2 separate regions of the Homo sapiens genome follow, and region 1 is linked to region 2. Evidence: promoter capture Hi-C in 16 types of primary human blood cells and fetal thymus (Javierre and others, 2016). All regions are on one chromosome and are shown on one strand. The core of a region is centred on a gene start or on the middle of the fragment in contact, and the rest is flanking DNA. Distances in the headings are between cores, read along the strand shown.

What was found. The method cuts DNA at HindIII sites, captures the fragments that hold promoters and counts their contacts. A CHiCAGO score of 5 or more calls a contact.
Region 1: a fragment that was not itself captured here is called in contact with the fragment with the promoter of METTL6 in region 2 in 1 of 17 cell types (monocytes); the score reaches 5.1 in monocytes.

Annotation. Positions count from the first base shown.
Region 1 is chr3:15,295,087-15,299,019 of GRCh38, reverse strand. All of the region lies in intron 3 of SH3BP5 (SH3 domain binding protein 5), which reads left to right. Among named protein-coding and RNA genes, the nearest start is that of SH3BP5, 36 kb to the left of the region's middle. The HindIII fragment of the contact is 3,996 bases long and covers 1-3,764 here.
Region 2 is chr3:15,425,019-15,428,881 of GRCh38, reverse strand. METTL6 (methyltransferase 6, tRNA N3-cytidine) reads left to right here and starts at 1,338. Exons shown (of 6, transcript NM_152396.4): 1 at 1,338-1,480; 2 at 2,247-2,595; 3 at 3,793-3,863. The coding sequence starts at 2,371. It overlaps EAF1 (ELL associated factor 1), which reads right to left and starts at 1,284. Exons shown (of 6, transcript NM_033083.7): 1 at 1,000-1,284. The coding sequence starts at 1,102. RefSeq lists an enhancer at 928-1,207 and a silencer at 1,204-1,367. The HindIII fragment of the contact is 9,714 bases long and covers 1-3,863 here.

The DNA.
Region 1 (3,933 bases), core at 517-3,016, 130 kb after region 2:
AGGTACATACAACACAAAATGTACCATTTTTACCATTCTTTTTTTTCTTTTTTGCCTCTCCCCCATTTTAACCATTCTTTAAGGATGGCATTAAGGCATTCACATTGTGAATGCACATTCACTTGCTGTGCAACTCTTACCACCATCCATCTCTAGAACCCTTGCATCTTCCCAGACTGAAACTGTACCCATTCAACACTAACTCCCCAATCCTCCCCTCTCCCAAGCTCAGGCAACCATCACTTCTGTTTTCTATTTCTATGAATTTGACTACCCTAGGTACCTCATATAAGTACTGAGGAATCATACAATATTTGTCATTTCGTTACTGGCTTATTTCACTTAGCATAATGTCCTCAACATTCATCCATGTTATAGCATGTGTCAGAATTTCCTTTCACTGAATGTATATACCACGTTTTATTTATCCATTCATCCATGGACATTGGGCAACCCTTGTTATTTTTGAATGGTTGGAATGCGTCAGAAGAGAGCAGAGCACTTTGCAAACTTGATGGGCAGCACAAATGCAAAATAGTGCGGATTATTTAGTGCTGAAAGTTGCCTGTTTTGTGTCTGTGGGGCTATATAAGGCCATGTCTTACATATAACCTCCTTTAGGAAAGGAGATGAGTGGGAAAACATTTGAAACTTGTAGAGTGACTTGTAGGCTCACCTCTTAAAAGCTGTGGGACCTTTGGCAGGTTACCTAATCTCTGTGCCTCATTTTTTTTCATCCATAAAATGGAGTTGGCTAATTGAGGGATCTCAGGCCTGTAATCCCAGCACTTTGGGAGGCCAAGGCGGGAGGACTGCTTGAAGCCAAGAGTTCGAGGCCAGCCTAGGCAATGTAGTGAGACCCAGTCTCTACAAAAAGTAGCCAGGCATGATGGTGCATGCCTGTGGTCCCAGCTACTCAGGAGGCAGAGGCAGGAGGATTGCTTGAGCCCAGGAGTTCCAGAGTGCAGTGAGTTATGATTGTGCTACTGCATTCCATCCTGGAGGACAGGGTGAGACCTTGGCTCTTTAAAAAAAAAAAAAAAAAAGAAAAAGAAAAGTTGTATATCAGTTAGCTTTTGCTATGAAGCCAACCACCCTAAAACTTAATGGCTTAAAACATTTATTTAGCTCATGGTTTTGTTGGCCAGTTTTTCTGATCTCAGGCTTAGAGCTGATCTCTCACATATACAGTCAGTTGATGGATTAGCTGGGGGCTGGCTGACCTTGGCCTTATCTGTCAAGCAGTTGGTTGGTGGTCAGCTAGGGTAGCAGGGGTGACTAGGCCACGTGTATCTTTCATTCACCAGGCTAGCCTGGTCATTTTCATACAGTGTTGAGATTCCAGCAACAAAAAGGGTGAGCCCTTTTCAAGCCTCTGCTTGTTTCATGTTTATTAACATCTTACGGGCTAAAGTCAGTCATGGGGCCAGTCCAAATTCAAGAATTGGGAACGATAAAGTCTACCTGCAACTTATTCTAGCTACTTTTGCAATTTACTACAGCGATTGAATTAGTACATGTAAAGCATTTGGATCCAATAAATGTAAGATTATCCTAGATGTATTTTTCTATCAAATGTTGAGTATCTGGTGAATCTGCTGCCTTGTAATAAAAAAAAGATCACCACCACAAAGAACCTGTGGGTAGAAGAGGAAACAGGCCTCTCCTGGCTGGGAGGGGGCTATGGAAGATAGAGAGATTGTGCCAGGTGGAAGAGTGAGCCCAGGTAGGTTGAGTACATAGTGAGTTATTTGTGAGGGCAGAATGTGCTGGAGGATCGAAAATGATGAGGGAGGGAGTAGCTGACTTACCTTTTGACTGATCAAAAGCACTCTGTGCCCAAAGGGATAGTGTGGCATGGGCCTTGAATGGATGGAGAATCGTGTTTTGAATGAAATGAAATGGGTCGAGCATATCAATTAATCTCCTGAACTATTATGTTAATCCTAGAGGAACAGAGTATTATAGTGATCCTTTGTTGGGAAATTCTAGGCATTGATTTTGTTTGTAGAAAGCCTGCCATGGCCAGGAGTGGTGGCTCATGCCTCTAATCCTGGCATTTTGGGAGATTGAGGTGGGAGGATTGCTTGAGCCCAGGAGTTCAATACCACCCTGGGCAACATGGTGAGACACCATTTCTTTTTTTTTTTTTTTTTTAAGAAGCCAGACATGGTGGTGCTTGCTTATGGTCCTAGCTACTTAGGAGGCTGAGGTAGAAGGATTGCGTGAGCCTGAGAAGTCAAGGCTGCGTGGAGCTGTGATCGCACCACTGCGCTCTAGTCTGGGTGAAAGAGTGAGACCCTGTCTCAAAAAAAAAAAAAAAAAGGAAAAACACTTCGTAAGTGGAGGATGAGAGGCTGATGTTCTGCAAAGGTAGGATATAAACTCAAGGATATGTCAAATGTAGGTTATTACTTTACATGTCTGTGTGGGGATTTAAAAAAATTTATTATTTTCTTTTCTTCGGTAGCTATTGACTGAGCACCTACCATATGCCAGGTATTGTTCTAGCCACTTGTTGACCTATCAAACATAGAACAGAGATCCTGTCCTTGTGGAGCTGACATTCCCCTCATGGCAGTCTTATAAAAGGGTGTGGGATGGGCTGTTTTGAGCAAAAGTAGAATCTTTGTTACTGACCTGGATAGGGGTGTGTGTGTGTGTGTGTGTGTGTGTGTATATGATTTCCCCATTTGAGGTATGGAGTGAGACTGTGGGAGGATTATAGCAGGTCAGGGGATTGGCAAAGAAAAGCATCTCCCCTTTGTCTGCAGTGGCCACTGTGGAGTATACAGTTGGTCTGTATCCTCCAGGAGCCCCATCTTCTTGAAGGTGGTGTTATGGCAGAGGTAAATACAATCAGTTCTCATTATCTGTGGTAGTCATATTCTATAAAGTTGCCACAGACACTGAATTAGCAAGTACCAAGGCTTTGCTCCTAGGGGAAATAGAGGTTAGGTTCCTGAGAGCCTCTGGTCACAACATTTTTGTCAGCTGATCAATACATAACCTTGTTATATGTGTGTTTCTGTTTAAAGACCCCTTATTTAGTGTGTTTCTTACAATCAATTATATGCAATATTTCTTGATAATAAAACACTAGCTGCAAAGGGTTGAATGTTCTCCTGACTCTGGGTGATGTGACTATAAACTTCTTTGGCTCTTAGCCTCATGATGATGCTGTCCACTCTGCTTTTTTAATCTGTCATGACCTCTCAGGCTTAGTGCCAGATAATCCACAAATCCAGCCATGTTTTCATCTTTTCCATAGCTTCGTCATGCACAGCGGATGTTACTTTAGCACTTACTTGAGTGAACTCATGTTCAGATTGGCAAATTTCCTCTTCCTTTTTCTGCATGTGTCGTTTTGTTGACTCATTAACACTGAACTCACAGCCAACAGTGGTATAACTTCTGCCTGAACGAAGCTCATCTAACGCAAGCATTTTCTCCATAAGGCGCATCACAGCCTTCTTGTACTTAGGAGCACTAGAAAGCACTTAATTGCTATACTTGGAGGCCAATTTATAGAGAAAAATCATCAACAAAAAGCACAAAAATGTCAAAAACACAGCACTAAAAGGACCGAGGAAAGGACACTTGTGTACAGTATGAGAGCCAAAACAAGAAGGCAGGGTGGCTTCTTGTTGGACATCAGCTAGAAACGTATGTATCAGGTAGCTCATTTTTTCACCACTCTGTGCATGTCGATGGATGGCCCCAAGAACACTGCAAGTGTTGATTTTGGGGTTACAAATAAAGCTTAGTAAGTAGGCAAATTCACAAATACGGAAGCTGTGAATAATGAGGACTGACTGTATTTGCCAAGAGCCACATGGAGAGGCTTATTTGTTAGTGCGCTGAACCATGTGGCTCTGATGTAGATGGCAAAGGGAAGAAGCTAGGGAGTGTGTCACTGTGTGTGTGTGTGTT
Region 2 (3,863 bases), core at 89-2,588:
GATGGGATTTCATTATCTAAAACGCCCTCTTCACATGTGTTGAGTCACATCTATTAGGTCCTCTGACAAAAACAAGTCTTAACAACAGCGTTAGCACCACGGAAACCAGAAGTTCATGAATCACGGAGGGATGCTCTGTCAGCCAATTCCTAACTGCCAAACCTTCACCCAGGACATAGGGTGGAAGTGCACTCTCTCAACAGCGTCTATAATTATGTAGAAAAAGGTCCGGCATAATGACTATTTGGACATTCCTTACGCCTGCTCTCTTCTGCTTCCAAACGTAGACCAATCTTTAACCTATCCCAGGCTCACGAACTCTGATTTGACTCTTTACCCACAAGGAACTTGGTCTGGAGGAAAAGCCCGGGTGGTATAGGTGACCTCAAAAGACATCCAAGTCAAATGAAGCACAGAAAGGAGATGGAAGAAGACTCTGATGAGGCGCAGAGAGGATGCCAATTCTTTGGCTGTAGAGGGGACAAAGCACAGTATTTGGGAGTCCAGGACCAAGTCGGAGGAGAAAAGCAGGGAAGAGAATGGGTTCTAAGGCAGTGGATGAGGCTCATAACAAACAAGAAGCGTCTTTTAAATGTGGAGAACCCTGATGGGAGCATCGGAAAGGAGGGGAGGGGTTTCGAGGGAGAAGTGGACCCGGATAAGAGGGGGGAGGTTTGCCTTGGGGGAGGGAGGTTTGCCTTAGGGGCGAGGTTGGGGGCGGGGAGGGATGGAAATGGAAAGAGGCCAAAGACCTTTGGAACTAGTGTTTGAGACTGTGAGGTAGAAGAATAGTAGGGAGTGACGAAGATTTGGGAGAAATAATCTGGGTAAAAGAAGGGACAAATCGATGTCCCAAAGGATTTGGGGTTCGAGAGAAAGTAACTGACGCTGGCAGGGGGTTCCCTGGAATCTGAAGGGCCGAGGGAAGAAAGGAAGGAGTCAAGGTTGATATGTGGCGGCTGGAGCGGCCGAAGGGAACCGTGGGGAGCGCTGACTTACAACGAATAGTGTGGAAGGAGGCCCGCGGCCGCTTCTCGAAGCTCTCCCCGAGCCTCAGGCAATGTTCCTCGCGGTCCAGCAGCGGGTTTGCGGTCCCATTCATGGCCCCGCACCTGCCTCGCACCCAGATCGGCGCTCTCCCGGTGCAGCCGCGATCCGAGCTTCTGGCGCTGGCGTCTGGGAGGACTGTGCTTCCGGGCCACCGCTCTGGAAGACAAGGAGAGCCGAGCCGGCACCCACCCGGGTCCAGAAGCAAGTTCTCTCCTCTGCGTGGGGGTGAGAGAGGAATCTGAGGAGGCAAGGCCGTGGGACTTCCGGCGTCGGGTAGGAACTTCCGGGTTCCTAGCGGAAGTGGCGGGGGCGGTGCCATGGCAAAAGAACTCCCGGATAATCCGAATTCGTGGTCCTCAGAATTGGTTTAGGGTTGTTTCGCGGTTCTTCCCGTATTCTGCCTCCGAGGCCCAGTGGGGCTGGCTGTGGGGTGAGTGCGCCTGGCCCTAGCCCTGCAGGTGAATTTAGGAACTGATGACGGTGAGCCCTGAGCGTGGCTGACTAAATTAACGCGGGTCGGCTAGCCATCATGGACGCCCTCCTCAGGGTCTAGGGGCCCATGCAGCCTAGTCTATCCTGAGGGTCCTGAGATGGATCCTCGGGACCTCAGCCACGCGTCATTGGGTCTCTTTCTCCACTTTGCCCGGTGATGGCGGTGCGAGGGTCTCAGTCCCTGCAAAGTGACGCTCCCTCTGGTTCCTATGACAGCCTCTTGTGAGTGTGATCAGGAAATGAGCCCACCCAGGCTTAGCTTCATTTCCCCCGAAAAAACGGAGGTCCGACCCTTGGGAAACGATGACCTCACTTGTATCTGACAATTGACCACCCGCTTCCAGCTAAGGCCATTGTGGTTTTTAAGTCACCCCTTTCGCGGGCACCGAAAATTGAGGAATATTTTCTTCGCAAGGTTTCCCAGTCAGTTCTTGAGAGCGTCCTTTTTCGTAAACTAAATCGATTTATTGTAATAGTTGACTCATCTGGTTTGAATAAAAGTATGGTGCATGAGATAGTCTGGCCACTGAAATGAATGTAAGCCCACTGAAGGTAGGGACTGTGTGTTTGTCTTCTTTGTGACCTCTCATATAGCGGGAAGGATTTTTTTTTGTACAGTCTGCATCTCATAAACATTTGGTGAATTGAACCTGGCGTCTTGAACTGTAACCACTAACCAGAATCTAATTCTTTTCTCTGCGAAGCCCCCTGTGCTGTTTGAGGCGTGAAACTCACCTCAGGAAATGTATCTGATCCATTAGCGTGGATTCATATTATTTGGTGATGGAGAATCTTCAGCTGTGTTAAGTGTTACCGTCAGTTTCAGAGATGGCTTCTTTGCAAAGGAAAGGGCTGCAGGCAAGGATTCTCACCTCTGAAGAAGAGGAGAAACTGAAAAGAGACCAAACTTTGGTGTCTGATTTTAAACAGCAGAAATTGGAACAAGAGGCTCAGAAAAATTGGGATCTTTTTTACAAAAGAAATAGCACTAATTTCTTCAAAGACAGACACTGGACCACCAGAGAGTTTGAGGAGCTAAGATCATGTAGAGAGGTAAGCTAATATTACGCCTTATCTGAGCTGTTCTTCATTTAAAATGTGAAGAGGGTGCCATGGCTCATGCCTGTAATCCCAGTACTTGGGGAGGCCAAGGCAGGCGGATCACGAAGTCAAGAGATCGAGACCATCCTGGCCAACATGATGAAACCCCGTCTTTACTAAAAATACAAAAATTAGCTGGGTGTGGTGGTGCTCGCCTGTAGTCCCAGCTACTTGGAAGGCTGAGGCAGGAGAATCGCTTGAACCCGGGAGGCGGAGATAGCAGTGAGCCGAGATTGTGCCACTGCACTCCAGCCTGGTGACAGAACGAGACTCTGTCTCAAAAGAAAAAAAAATGTGAAGAGGTGTGCTGTATTGCATTCCTAGGGAGAGTGCGAAGTAGAGAATTTAAGAAGCCTATCAAAATGCTTTGCGTTTTAGGAGAGAAATATACTGTTTGGTCTTAACACCAAAGTTTTAGCAGTTTCTGGTTTGGTTAACATATAGGAGAGAGAACTTTAGTGGGTGTTTTCTATTTCTTTAAGCTGATCTGATAGTTGTAAACATTATATATTAAATTCAAGAGCCAGGTCTGGTGGCTATTGCCAGCTACTCCAGAGGCTGAGGCAGGCGGCTTGTGCCTGTGAATAGTCAACATGAATTAGCCAAGCCTAGGCAGCATAGTGAGACCCTATGTTCTGAATTTTAAAATTTTAAACATTAAAAATTTTAAAAACAAAAATATAAATTCATGCTAAGTGACTTCAGTGACAGATTCAGAATAATATAATAGTTAATGTTAGTAACTATTTACCATGGCTGTTTTCTACATGGCCTATCATTTGACCCTTATACCGGCTCTGTGAAGTGTAAGTATTAGTATTGTACTCATTTGTCCCCAAGGTAAAATTGAGGCACAGAGCTGTTTAAGTGATTTACCCAAGGATAGAATGCAGGGGAGGAGTTGAGATTTGGGTGCTGGCAGTTTAACTCCAGAGCCGAGTTAGCCATTGTGCTGTTTTTTTCCTCCACACCAAATTGTTAATGTTGGATGACAAATGAAGTACCAGTATTAGCTTTTGCTTATTAGTTCTCTTGTTGATCGTCTGCTCCATGGGGTCGGAGACCTCTCATATTCTGGACCTTTTAGTTTGGTTTATTTCTTCATTATGCAAATGTGATATACTATAACTTTGAGCTGTCTTTCCCCAGTTTGAAGATCAAAAGTTAACAATGCTTGAAGCTGGCTGTGGGGTTGGAAACTGTTTATTCCCACTTTTAGA